Linked DNA regions of Homo sapiens: all the other regions are linked to region 4. The links are contacts of gene promoters, found by promoter capture Hi-C in blood cells and fetal thymus (Javierre and others, 2016). All regions are on one chromosome and are shown on one strand. Each heading gives the region's core, a stretch centred on a gene start or on the middle of the fragment in contact. The rest is flanking DNA. Distances are from core to core; before and after follow the strand shown. Region 1 overlaps RNF139 (ring finger protein 139). Region 2 has its middle 4.4 kb from the start of TYW2. Region 3 overlaps RNF139-DT (RNF139 divergent transcript). Region 4 holds the start of ZHX2 (zinc fingers and homeoboxes 2).

The links. Contacts are between HindIII fragments. The CHiCAGO score rates a contact against its expected background, and 5 or more counts as called.
Region 1: a contact is called between a fragment that was not itself captured here and the fragment with the promoter of ZHX2 in region 4, in 1 of 17 cell types (naive B cells). The highest score is 5.3, in naive B cells.
Region 2: a fragment that was not itself captured here is called in contact with the fragment with the promoter of ZHX2 in region 4 in 3 of 17 cell types (naive B cells, total B cells and fetal thymus); the score reaches 9.4 in naive B cells.
Region 3: a fragment that was not itself captured here is called in contact with the fragment with the promoter of ZHX2 in region 4 in 1 of 17 cell types (total B cells); the score reaches 9.7 in total B cells.

The regions. Positions count from the first base shown.
Region 1 is chr8:124,478,302-124,481,700 of GRCh38, forward strand. The region is part of intron 1 of RNF139 (ring finger protein 139); the gene reads left to right. Among named protein-coding and RNA genes, the nearest start is that of RNF139, 5.1 kb to the left of the region's middle. The HindIII fragment of the contact is 4,337 bases long and covers 1-3,399 here.
Region 2 is chr8:124,444,819-124,447,928 of GRCh38, forward strand. No RefSeq gene overlaps it. Among named protein-coding and RNA genes, the nearest start is that of TYW2, 4.4 kb to the right of the region's middle. The HindIII fragment of the contact is 2,542 bases long and covers 528-3,069 here.
Region 3 is chr8:124,462,473-124,465,525 of GRCh38, forward strand. RNF139-DT (RNF139 divergent transcript) reads right to left here. Exons shown (of 2, transcript NR_108047.1): 2 at 21-3,053. Among named protein-coding and RNA genes, the nearest start is that of RNF139-DT, 11 kb to the right of the region's middle. The HindIII fragment of the contact is 1,028 bases long and covers 803-1,830 here.
Region 4 is chr8:122,780,202-122,783,177 of GRCh38, forward strand. ZHX2 (zinc fingers and homeoboxes 2) reads left to right here and starts at 1,454. Exons shown (of 4, transcript NM_014943.5): 1 at 1,454-1,745. It overlaps ZHX2-AS1 (ZHX2 antisense RNA 2), which reads right to left and starts at 1,403. Exons shown (of 2, transcript XR_007061082.1): 1 at 1-1,403. RefSeq lists enhancers at 1-398, 399-898, 2,066-2,115, 2,771-2,976 and silencers at 2,166-2,235, 2,456-2,585. The HindIII fragment of the contact is 13,394 bases long and covers 197-2,976 here.

The DNA of each region.
Region 1 (3,399 bases), core at 564-3,063, 1.7 Mb after region 4:
TACCTAGCCTTGTTTATAATTAAATACTGTCAAGACCGCTTACGGTGGCTCACGCCTATAATCCCAGCACTTTGGGAGGCTGAGGCAGGCAGATTGCTTGAGGCCAGGAGTTTGACACCAGCTTGGCCAAATGGCACAACCCGTGTCTACCAAAAAATTAGCCGGGTGCAGTGACTCCTGCCCATAGTCCCAGCTACTGTGGAGGCTGAGGCACGAGAATCTCTCGAATCGGGGAGGTGGAGGTTGCAGTGAGCCAAGATCGCGCCACTGCACTCCAGCCTGGGCGATAGAGCGAGACTGTCTCAAAAAAAAAAAAAAAGTCAAAAAAAATTTATCAGATTGGTGAAGAGTTCAAAGTTTTATTAGTTTTGCAAAGGTATTTACCTTTTTGAAATAGGTAAATTTATACAATTTTGGAAGACTTTTTTTTTTTTTTGAGACGGAGTTTGCTCTTGTTGCCCAGGCCGGAGTGCAATGGCGTGATCTCGGCTCACCACAACTTCCACCTCCCAGGTTCGGGCGATTCTCCGGCCTCAGCCTCCCGAGTAGCTAGGATGATTACAGGCAAGCGCCACCACCCCCGGCAAATTTTTTTCTATTTTTAGTAGAGACAGGTTTTCTCCATGTTGGTCAGGCTGTTCTCCAACTCCCGACCTCAGGTGATCTGCCCACATCGTCCTCCCAGAGTGCTGGGATTACAGGCGTGAGCCACCGTGCCTGGCCCGGAAGACTCTTAATTTCAGTGTAAAACCATTTGGCAGTATCAACTGTCATTTACAACTGACTTCTCAGTGTTTTGTTTTGTTTTTGAGACAGTCTCACTCTGTCACCAAGGCTGGAGTGCAGTGGCGTGATCTCAGCACACTGCAACCTCCACCTCCCAGGTTCAAGCGATTCTCCTGCCTCAGCCTCCCAAGTAGCTGGGATGCCTGGCTCGTACAACTTTTGACTCACAATTTCAATTCTAGGGAATTGGCCTAGAGAGATAGTTTGCTTAAGGACTATGGGCAAGCATTACTGGAAATAACAAAGCAACAAACTTAATCTAAATATGTATTGATACAAATCTGTTCATTGTATTAGGTCTAGCCATGCAATAAAGTTCTTGAAAGAAATGAGATAGCTATTTTTGGTGCCGAAAAAGACTTCAGAAAACCTCTGAAGTGAAAAAACAAAGCCGAAGTAATTATCACTGGCAGAGGAATAGACAGAGATTTCTCAACAGTGGCAGTATTGACATTTTGGACAGGATAATTCTTTGTTTGCGGATGGGAGCTCTCCTGTGCACTGTAAGATTTTTAGCAGCATCACTATCCCCTGCCCATTAGATGCCAGTAGCACCTTGCACCCCCACACCCCAGTGTGACAGCCAAAACTGTCCCTGGATATTGCCAAATCATGGTTGAGAACCATTGGGATAGACAAATAGATTAGTACTTAGCCTTATTTATAATTACATAGCCCAGAAACAGACACCAATGTATATATAGAAATAATGTGTTTCAGAGATAGAATTGAAGTACATTGAGGTAAATATGGACTGTTGAATTAATGATCATTTTGTTACACCTTTGGAAATAAATTATACTAGATGTCTACCTTATGTCAATATATAGACAGTCACTTCTAGGTTGAGCAGTGTAGTGAGACCCTGTCTCTGCAAAAATAAATATTTAAAATAATAGCCATACTTGGTGGTGGGTGCCTGTAGTCCTATCTTACTCAGGAGGCTGGGGTGAGAAGATCGCTTGGGCCTAGGAGTTCAAGGCTGCAAGTGAGCTATGATTGCATAACTGCACTCCAGCCTGGCTGGGTGACAGAGCAAGACCCTGTCTCTTAAAAAAAAAAAATAGTCATTTCTAAGTGTATTCTTACCTAGATGTATATGTAAATATGAAATGCAGAACTTTAAATTTTTAGAAAAAAATATGGAATATTTTATTTTTCCAATCTTAGATTAAGGAAGAAATCCTTAAAAATATATAAAAGCAAATACATAATGAAGATTGATAAACCGAATGATATTGAGGTTAAAAACCTATGTTAATCAAAAGATCGCACCACTGCACTCCAGCCTGGGCAACAGAGCGAGACTCCATCACTAAAAAAAAAAAAAAAAAAAAAAGGAAGTCAAATCTTGGGTAAGGGGGAACTACTGTACTTACATTTACCCATTTATTATAAAGGCAATTACAAAGGACACAGATGAATTAACCCGATGGAAGGAGATGTACAAGGTGAGACAAAGAAGGAGAGAAGAGGAGAAGGGGCGTGGAGCTTCAGTGTTCAGCTATCTGAGAGCTCACAGAACTCAGTCCTTTTGGGCTTCTATGGAAGTTCATTAAATAGGCAAGATTGATTAGATCACTAGTCATTGGTTTATGGACTCAAGTTTCAGCTTCTTTCTTCCCAGAAGTGGCGGCTGGGGGTAGGAATCAAAGTTATAACCCTTAATCACTGGGCTGATTCCCCTGGCTACCTAGCCCCCATCCTGAAGCTATCTAGGGGCCCCCAGGCACCAGTCATCTGATTATTGTACAAAACAGTCATCACTCCAGAGATTCCAAGGATTTTAGAAGCTATGTCAGAAAATGGGACAAAGACCAAATATTAATATTTTTTTTATGATATCACAGATGGGAAAGACAAACTAGAAAAACTTGCTTTAACTCTTCATTTAACACCTCTCTGTAGGGTTTGGCTTTTTAAAATCCATGTTCATATATTTTTGATAAAAGCATACTTATTATAAGTTTAGTTTAAAAGCAAAAGTTTAATTTTGTGTTAATACTTAGAATACCAGGTTTTTTTTCAACCTAAAATGAGAATCCAATAGAAATGTTTTCTTTATAATTTATCAAGTATACCAACAGATTAACAACATTTCAAGACACTTTGTTGTAAACTTCATTGCGGAAGGCTCCCTTGGGAGTAAGGTAGTAGTAACATTTATTTCTGTGCTTTTCCATATTTATTCTGTCAGGTATTGAAATGTTTTTCCACAGGTTGCTTTTTGTTTTAGAGGTATTTCGGGTACTTGGAGAATTGTAAATATTATGTTTTGTACCCTGATTTTTAGTCATAAGTTTCCAAAAGAGGGTAAGGGTATGAATAGACTTTACACATAAAAGAGTGAAACACTTTGTTATGTAACATGTATAGTAAGTTTTTATTTTTTCTTTTGTTTTTATTTGCCTGTTTTTGGTAATCCAAATTGAAAAGGCCTGAACTCTTTCATGAGTTGAGTTCATATATAGTTTCAAAGTTCCTGAATTGATTTGGATACCTGCCTCTTTTTGGCTACCTTGAAAACTCTAGTGAACTCTCTTAATCACTGGAGAATTGGACTGAGATCTCTGAGTTGTGATTTCAGTAAATTCTGTTCTCAAAATTTTTTAT
Region 2 (3,110 bases), core at 549-3,048, 1.7 Mb after region 4:
TTAACAGGATCCCATTTCCTGGCTGGATTACAATAGGATTTTTTTCCTTAGTGAGGGAAGGAAGTCTCTCATTTCTGTATTCAAGAAGAGCTTTTTGCACCTGACCTAAGTTGGCAACATAATTCTGTAATTTGAAAGTATCTCCATCTACTAGGAAATCAGCAATTCTTTCAGAAAGGCTTTCCGTACATTATTTCAAAAGGGCTGAGCCTTCCACTGGGGCAGCCCAAACTTGCAGCGAGGCCACAGGCGATAGACGGAGCCAGGTTTCTGATGTTTCCTGTCAGAGCTTAGCAAGGGTCCTGTCTAAAATTTGATTGGTCCTTTCTACTTTTCCTGAAGACTGTGGCCTCCATGCGGAATGAAGACCATATTGAATTCCTAGAGCGGATGCTATGTCTTGGTTATTGTTGCTGTAAAGATGGGCCATTATCACTCTACAAGCTTTTAGGCAACCTGAATCTGGGAATCATATCCTTGAATGAAAATTTAGAAACCTTGATTGACTTTTCAGGCCAGATAGGAAAAGCTTCAATCCAACATGTAAAGAAAGGTATCAACCAACACTGATAAATATTGGAATCCTTTACATGGGGGCATTTGGGTATAGTGTGTTTGCCAATCTTCTTCTGGGTACGACCCCCTATGCTGAACAGGCTTTACTAATGGAGGAGGTAAAGTTTGGTTGTTTGAGGTTTTTTTGGGCACACAATTCACAGGCCCAAGTCACTTGTTTTACTGTTCTAAGAAAGTCTTTTCGGCCAGGCACGGTGGCTCACGCCTGTAATCCCAGCACTTTGGGAGGCTGAGGTGGGTGGATCACGAGGTCAGGAGTTCAAGACCAGCCTGGCCAACATGGTGAAACCCTGTCTTTACTAAAAATACAAAAATTAGCTGGGCATGGTGGCAGATGCCTGCAATCCCAGCTACTCGGGAGGCTGAGGCAGAGAATTGCTTGAACCCAGGAGGCAGAGGTTGCAGTGAGCTGAGATCACACCACTGCACTCCAGCCTGGGTGACAGAGCGAGACTCCGTCTCAAAAAAAAAAAGAAAGTCTTTCCCTATAAACAGATGAGCCATATTAATTGAAATGAGAAATCTCTTCCCAAATGAGTAGAGCCATGCCAATACTTAACTATTTTCCATTGATCAGCTCTTGGTACATATCATCTGTCATTTTCATCAATTAGCCATCTGGAAGTGCTTATAGTTAACCCATGGGTCTTAGCCCATTTTTGTTCTTTTCTAGTATTAACCATGCTCTAGTTTTATCGTCACCAAGGCAGTGGGCACCAACATGCCTACCAGATTAACTGGTTCCCTCAAATGAAGCTGCCTCAGCTGTAGCATCTGCAAAAGAATGCCCTTTTATTATTTTGGAGTTTTCTTTCTTTCTTTTCTTTTCTTTTTTTTCTTTTTTTTTTTTTTTTTGAGTCAGAGCCTTGCTCAAGTTGCCCAGGCTGGAGTGCAATGGCACGATCTCAGGCTCACTGCAACCTCTGCTGCCCAGGTTCAAGCAATTCTCCTGCCTTAGCCTCCCAGGTAGCTGGGATTACAGGCACGAGCCACCACGCCCAACTAATTTTTGTATTTTTAGTAGAGATGGGGTTTCACCCTGTTGGCAAGCCTGGTCTCGAACTCCTGACCTCATGATCCGCCCGCCTTAGCCCCTCAAAGTGCTGGGATTACAGGTGTGAGCCACAGTGCCTGGCATATTTTGGAGTTTTCTTTTTGATGTCCCTTGCAGTGAATCACAGCAACTTCCTTAGGCAGCAAGGAAGCATCTAGTAGATTTAAAATTCCCAAATAATGTTCTATAGGGGAGCCCTTAGAAGTTAAAGAGTCCCCATTATTTCCAAATAGCAGCATGAGCATGAAGCACCAGAAAGCCATACTTGGAGTTTGTGTACATGTTAATTCTTTTTTAAAATTATTATCCTTTTTTGAGACAGAGTCTCGCTCTGTCTCTAGCCTGGAGTGCAGTGGCATGACCTTGGCTTACTGCAAGCTCTGCCTCCTGGGTTCAAGTGATTCTCCTCCCTCAGCCTCCTGAGTAATTGGGACTACAGGTGTGCACCACCACGCCCAGGTAATTTTTGTATTTTTAGTACAAATGGGGTTTCACCATGTTGGCCAGGCTGTTCTGGAACTCCTGACCTCAAGTAATCCGCCTGCCTCAGCCTCCCAAAGTACTGGGATTACAGGTGTGAGCCACCACACCCAGCCCTAGTGGCCCGTCTTTTAAATCCTGCCAGCTGGAATAAATTTGTTCCATAGCTTGTGTACATGAATGATCTAGGGTGCCTTTGGATCCAAGTAGATACGTAGCTAGGATTAAGGTCTTCTGTTATACTTTAAGAGTTATATCAAGAGTATCTAGCAATAAAGCCTGATAATTTAATAACTATCCCCTACTCATCTATTGGTGCCCTTTAGCTTCTAGGGCCTCTGTTATTTGGTGTGGGGTCAAAACCTCCAGATGTTGTCCCAAAGTTAATTTATTGTCTTCATCTATGAGAAGAGCAGTTGTTGCAACTGCCCTGAAACATCTGAGTCATCCTGAAGCCACATGGTCAATTGGTTAGAAAAATATGCCATGGGTCAAGGGATGTATCCCTGTTTCTAGACAAGAACATTTAGGGCTGTCCCTTGTTTCTCAGCCACATAAAGGAAGAAAGTAAAGCCTGTCCCTAAACCCACGGGGAAGAATTGTCCAAGTTAACACAGAAACCAAAAGATTATTAGGTAATCAAAAGTAAAGACCACAATAGGGGACTCAGCAAAAGAAATGTTTCACTAGAGAAGGGAAATGACAAAGTTCTAGAAAGGAATGTCCAAGTTCAGGCCAGTAGCGGCAAGCAGGACAAGATTTACATGGCCTTGCCATTTGTAACCAAAAAGTAAAAGTCATTCCATTAGCAAGGAGATGAAAAAGAACTGCTGAAAAGCAATCTCCAGTTTTCCATCCTGGAGCAGTTCACCTAGGGGGGACTGGTATAATTGCTGCCAGGCTTAATCTTTCACATTGGACCTTTTCATTTAAAACTTGTAAATGCGAAATTCCAAGTAAGCTTTGCAAAAAAGGAGAGACAATAAACAATTCATTTAAG
Region 3 (3,053 bases), core at 67-2,566, 1.7 Mb after region 4:
GTGTGTGTCTCATTTTATTCTTTTTTCTCTCTGTTTCAGGGAGGTTCTACTGCTGCATCTTCAAGTTCACTGATCTTTCTTTCTGCAATATCTAATCTGCCATTAATCTCATCTAACATATTTTTCATCTCAGACATTGGAGTTTTCATCTCTAGAAGTTTGATACGGGTCTTTTTATACCTTCATTGTCTGTAATATCTTCAGTCTTTCCTCTGGTTTCTTGAATACATGGAATATAATTATAATAACTGTTTTAATGTCCTTGTCTAATAATCTTCATCATCTGTAATTTCTGAGTCAGTTTTGACAGAATGTTTTATTTTTTGTTTGTTTTGAGATGGAGTCTTGCTCTGTTGCCCAGGCTGGAGTGCATTGGCACAATCTCACTGCAACCTCTGCCTCCTGGGTTCAAGCAATTCTCCTGCCTTAGCCTCCTGAATAGCTGGGACTACAGGTGAGCACCACCACTCCCTGCTAATTTTTGTATTTTTAGTAGAGACGGGGTTTCGCCATGTTGGCCAGGCTGGTCTTGAACTCCTGACCTCAGGTCATCCACCTACCTTGGCCTCCCAAAGTGCTGGGATTACAGGTGTGAGCCACTGCACCTAGCCCAGAATGTTTTATTTTTCTTATTATGGGTTGTATTTTTCTGTTGCATGCCTGGTAATTTTTGATTGGATGCCAGCCATTGTGAATTTTACTTTGTAGATTATTTTCATATCCCTAAAACAGTTTGAACTTTCTTCTGGAGTATGATTAAGTTATTTGGACACAGTTTGAATGTTTTTGGGTCTCTCTTTTAAGCTTTGTTAGGTTATTCTAGAGCATTTAGTCGAGGGTTAATTTTTCCCGCTATTGAAGCAAGACCTTTCTTAGTACTCTAACTGGTGCCTTGTGAATTAGGATCTTTTCCACTCTTGCTGACGGGATCAGGAATCATTCACCATCCTGTGTGAGCTTTGAGTATTGTTTTCTTTAATCCTTTCTGATGGTTCTTTGCCAAGCCTTTGGTTATTTCCTCTCATGCATGTACTAATCATTATTTAGCTTAATACTTCAGGAGAATGGTCAGCAGATCTCTGGAGTTCTCTCTGTGTCACTCTGTCCTCTCTAGTATTCTACCCTGTGAACTCTAGTTGCCTTGGGCTCTCAGGACTCCCACTTATATCTCCTCACCTCACAGAGTCTTCTGGGTTCCCTCTCCCCATGCCAAAGCCTTTCTTCAGGCAGCAAGTTGGAGCAATTGTATTGCTCACCTTGTTTGCATTCCATCTCTCATGGATTACTATCCTTCACTGCCTATGTCCAATGCCTTCAGGGCCATTGTTTCATATATTTTGCCCATTTAAAAAAAGTATTTGGAAGTTTATAATTACTTTCTACTTAAATTTACTAGCTGTCACAATCATTACTGAAGAAATTCACTCTTGCAATAATATACATATGTACTTCATTTGACACAGAATTTCAACATGTAAAGCATATAAGAATTTCTTGCCACAATCATGTTTAGAATGCTTACCTATAAGGTGAATATTAAAATATTAGTAAATACAATGACTTTTTTCAGATTAGACATGATAAATAACCTGCAAGGTTACTTGACCATTGGTCACACAGAATTTCAGAGAGATCAGAACCAGTGTCAAAATAGGTATTTGTCTTTTTGGCTTTTTAAAGGTCAAGGTTGAATCAAGGGTAAACGAAAATATTGCATGAACATGAAGCTAAAATTGAATTTTATGTAACACAACAACAGCACTGGGTAAATAGAGATAGGTGGATAGACTGTCTCAGTTTCTTTTTAATAATTTTTATTTTTTTAATCGAAGCTTTACACATAATTTAAAAACTCAAAGGTAACAAAACCTAATATGAAAAAAGCCCACCATGATGAAGCAGCTGTTCTGCAGGTGTTTTGCCCTCATTCTGTGTGTCTACTTTCAATTCCAAATGGGCTTATATGACCAAAGAGATGCAGGATCTAACCAACATGTACCAACAGGAACCATGAGCATGTGTATGGAACTGGGTCCTGAGAGTGCTGGACAAGAATTAAGTTTGTGTTTATATAGGACAGCAGTACCCATTTATAGTATTGGCTTAGGGTTATGTTAACTCTTCCACACTGCGTCATAATCCGAAGAGATCTAGACCATCTAAACATCCCACATAATGTCACAATGACCTACCACATTGATGACATCATGCTAGCTGGATAAGGTGAATAATAAGCAGCTAGCATACTGTACACTGGAGGATGGGAAATAATCCTTAAGACCCAGCAAGCTGTTACCTCAGTGAAACTTTTAGGGCCCAGTAGGCTGCTTGAATGCCAAGATATCCCCTTCACAGTAAAGGACAAATTATTGCATCTCACCCACTCATTTCACCAAAATTATTCTGCCACCAGGGAAGCACACCAAGCTGTGTAGGCTTCTGTGGGAATTCAGAAGTTGGCAGTACTGTTCTGACTCGTAAACTGGGTGAGATAGAAATCTGCCAGTTTTCAGTGGGATCCATAGCATGTAAAAGTTCTCTAGCAGGTATGGTGTATTTAGCCCTGTTGCATGGACCAATTCAGGATATTCTATGGGACAAGAGTAAATGTGATAAGAAGCCATGAAAGTTGAAGGCAAGCTCCAATGGGAGAATCACAAGGTCGACTCCTGGCATTCTGTGGCAAGGCTGGGCCATCTGCAGTGCAAAATCCCAAAAACAACTCTATCCATGCTAATGTGCCTTGGTAAGAACTGATTATGGACATCAAGTGACCATGTAGCCAGAGAGGCCCATCATGAGCTGGGCAAAGGCAGGTGGTCAGGCTCCCATGTCATATCTGATTCTTTACCAATGTCCCTTCCTCAGCTCACAATTATGGCCACTTGGGAGGCTCTCATGTCTAGCTTATGGAGGACAAAAAAGCCTGAGCTGAATTCACTGAGGTTTCTTGGAATATAGGTTCAAAACAAAAATGGACTGCTACTGCCCTACAGCCCCACACAGGACTGGCCTTAAAAGACAGCAGTAAGGAGAACCCTCCCAAAAGGCAT
Region 4 (2,976 bases), core at 204-2,703:
CCGCTGCACACGGCCACCTGTTGATGCCCTCGCGCCCACAGCCGAGTTGCAAACGGCCGCTAGAGTTCGTTCTAATTCCCCAGAGCAGAGCTGCCCGGGAAGCCCCGACGCGACGCGCCTGCTAATCTGCAGGGCGGGCGGGGACTCCGCAGAGCCTCCCAGCCCCAGGCTCCCTTTGTTTTCTCGCTGCGCTCGAAGCTTCTAAACTAGCCCCCAGACCGCATCCCCTCGTCCCCGCCCGGGAGCTGCCCAAGAGTCCACAGGCCAGCCCAGGGGGAAACAAGGTACATCTGGGCAGGAATGCGCGGCGCAGACAGGTTGCCGCCTGAGATCCCGAAGTGTACCCAGATCCCGAATTCCTTAGAGCTCTTTAGCCGAGCACTGTGGCAGGAGCGCGGCGCCCGGAATACAAGTTCATGGTTCCGAGCCGGCGGGCGAAGGGCAGCGCGATCCCCCGCCACCTTTGCTCTAAGGCGCCTAGGGGAACCTGGGGGCTGCCGCGGTGAGAGCTCCGCTCCCACTGGGAACATTGGAGTCCCAGTTGCGAAAGCGACCCGCCTAGCTTCCGAGGGACTTCTCTGCGAGCACCGCAGGCGTGTGCATTTCTTCGAATCTGAGAATTCCAGCGAACTCGGGCTCTACCAGAGTTTAAGTCGGCCCCTGGGGCGTCTGTTTGTTTATTGGCTCTTAAGGGAAAAAAGTTTGAAGATCTTTAACCAGCCTCAGACCTGGCGCGGGCGGAAATCCCGGAATCTCCCCAAGCAAAAGTGATATAACTTCAAGTCGTTATATAAGTGGGGGGCTCCTTCTTCCCCTCCCTACGCCGAGCCTTCTCATTATCATTCCGGGAGTAAAATGTGTCTCGCTCAACATAGTTTTAAAATCGTTATTATTATTTTCCTGAGCCTGAAGCCGGGCCAAGGCGCAGGCAGCGCCCAGGGTGCGTGGTGGCCCCACCCGCGCACAGTCCCACGCAAAGGGTCCCGGGGCCCGGGTACCGCCAGAGCCGGGCCTGCAAGCGCGCCCTTCGGTCCCACGGTCCGCCACTCCACGTGGTCAAGATCAACAGTTTGTTGAGCTCATCAGTGACACCTTGAACTTTTCATAAAGAAAATGGGTATTGCACGGAGACGGTTTGGCCGCGGCCGCCGCGCGGGGTCGTGCTTAATATTCAATGATCTCGCTCGCGCCTCCCCCTCCTCTTCTCGCAGAAATTCCACCGAGTCCGTTACTGGGCTCAGACTTTTAAGTTAATTTACTGCCCCCCTACCTTGGCCAGTAACCAGCGCCTTTAGGGCTAGCCTCCCCCCCAGCTCCTGCCTGAAAAATGACATTTCGCCGGTGTCTCCGGAGGGGGCTGAATTTCACTTTGTAACTTTCTGCGGAACCCGAGCCCGGGTGGCAGCTCGGGTGGTGGTATCGTATGCAAATACGCATGCTGACGTTACAGATCATGTGGGTTTTGGCGTAGATTCCCCACTGATCGAGGCATTTTTTTTCCCTTTTTTTTTCCTTTTTTTTTTTCTTTTAAAAATTTTGGCCATCGTTCTCCGTACGGGGGCTTTTTCTGTCTGTCTGTCTGGCTGGCAGGCTGGCTTTCCCCCTCTTTCCCACGGAGCCCGAGCCGGGCGCCCGGTGGGGAGTGGGGAGTGGGTGGGGGGAGCCAGCAGAGTTCCATTTTGGAACGCCCGTGCCGCGTCTCCGCGTTCCCAGCCCGGGTCCCCGCGTTCACAGCCCCAGCGCAGGTAAGAAACTTCGCCTCGGCGCGGAGCCCCCCAGCCGGCGCCGCCGGCCCCAAACCCCGCACGCCGGGCGCCGGCCACTCCAGCCCAACTTTCCCACCGCCGCCGTCGCCGCCGCGGCTCCCGAAAATGTGTTGTTAATGGGACTTGGCCGGGTTTGTGATTGGAAGGGGGGTACGGAAGGGGGGGGGTGTGCAGGCTCTTTTTGCGGGTGGGAGGAAATGAGCGGATACAGAGAGGGAAGAAGATTTTTTTTTTAAGAGTTTTGATTACAAGTTTGGATAAATGGGAGCCAGAGCGAGGAGGAGGAGGAGGAGGAGGAAAAACATGTCTACGTTTCCCTATGTCGACATAAGCCACAAAAAAATATGGCGTCCGCTTTCGACAGGGCGTTACGTAGACCCGACTGTTTTTATTTATTTATTTCGTGGCCGTCTCCCTCCCTTCTTGGCCAAACTGCGGCGCTTTGTGCAAACGGGGCAGGTCCCGCGGGGACTCCACCGGGACGTGGCCCCGTCTCCGCGCGTTTTGGCAGGCGGGGGGCTGCGTGTGTCTGCTCCCCTCCCTCCCCCTCTCCCCTCGCTCCCCTCTCCCGGTGACGATTCGCCGTAATGTGGTGGCAGGAAGCATGACGCCGTGGGCCGAGGCTGCCTCTGCTCTCGTCGCTCCCGGCGGCTGCAGGCAGCGGGCGCGCAGCGCGGGCGGCAGCCGAGCTACCTGGCGGGGGCAGGGCCGGAGCGCGGCGCTGTCCTCACCCCCGCTCAGGTGCAGGGGGAGTCCGCGCGGGGCGGGGGGCCGAGGGCGGCCGCGGGACCCCCGGCCCTGCTGTCCGCTGCCAGCTGGCCGGAGCCTCTGCCAGCCCGAGCCCACGTTCGCCCCCCTGAACGGCAGCTGGCGCTTTTCGTCTGCCCCACAAGAGGTTAATCTTTGTTGGTGTTGCAGCTTCTTTGTGGCTTCCCCAGGACTTGTATCCTCGGCTTTGCAAACTTGCCCTTTTCCCAGCCGCTTTGCAGGAGGCTGCGGAGACGAAGATGAGCGGAAAGTTGGAAACCAGCAGGCATCACAGGACGGTCCCTTTGGCCTCGTAGCTGTGCTGAGCCTGGGAGGCGGAGGAGGAGGTGGAGGCGGCGGCGGAGGAGGGTTTGTCAGGCTGGGGAGAAAACTTGATGAGGAAGCCAAATTGTGATTTGTTCAGGTTTCCACCTGATTGATAGTCTTCAAAGCCAGTAGGTCT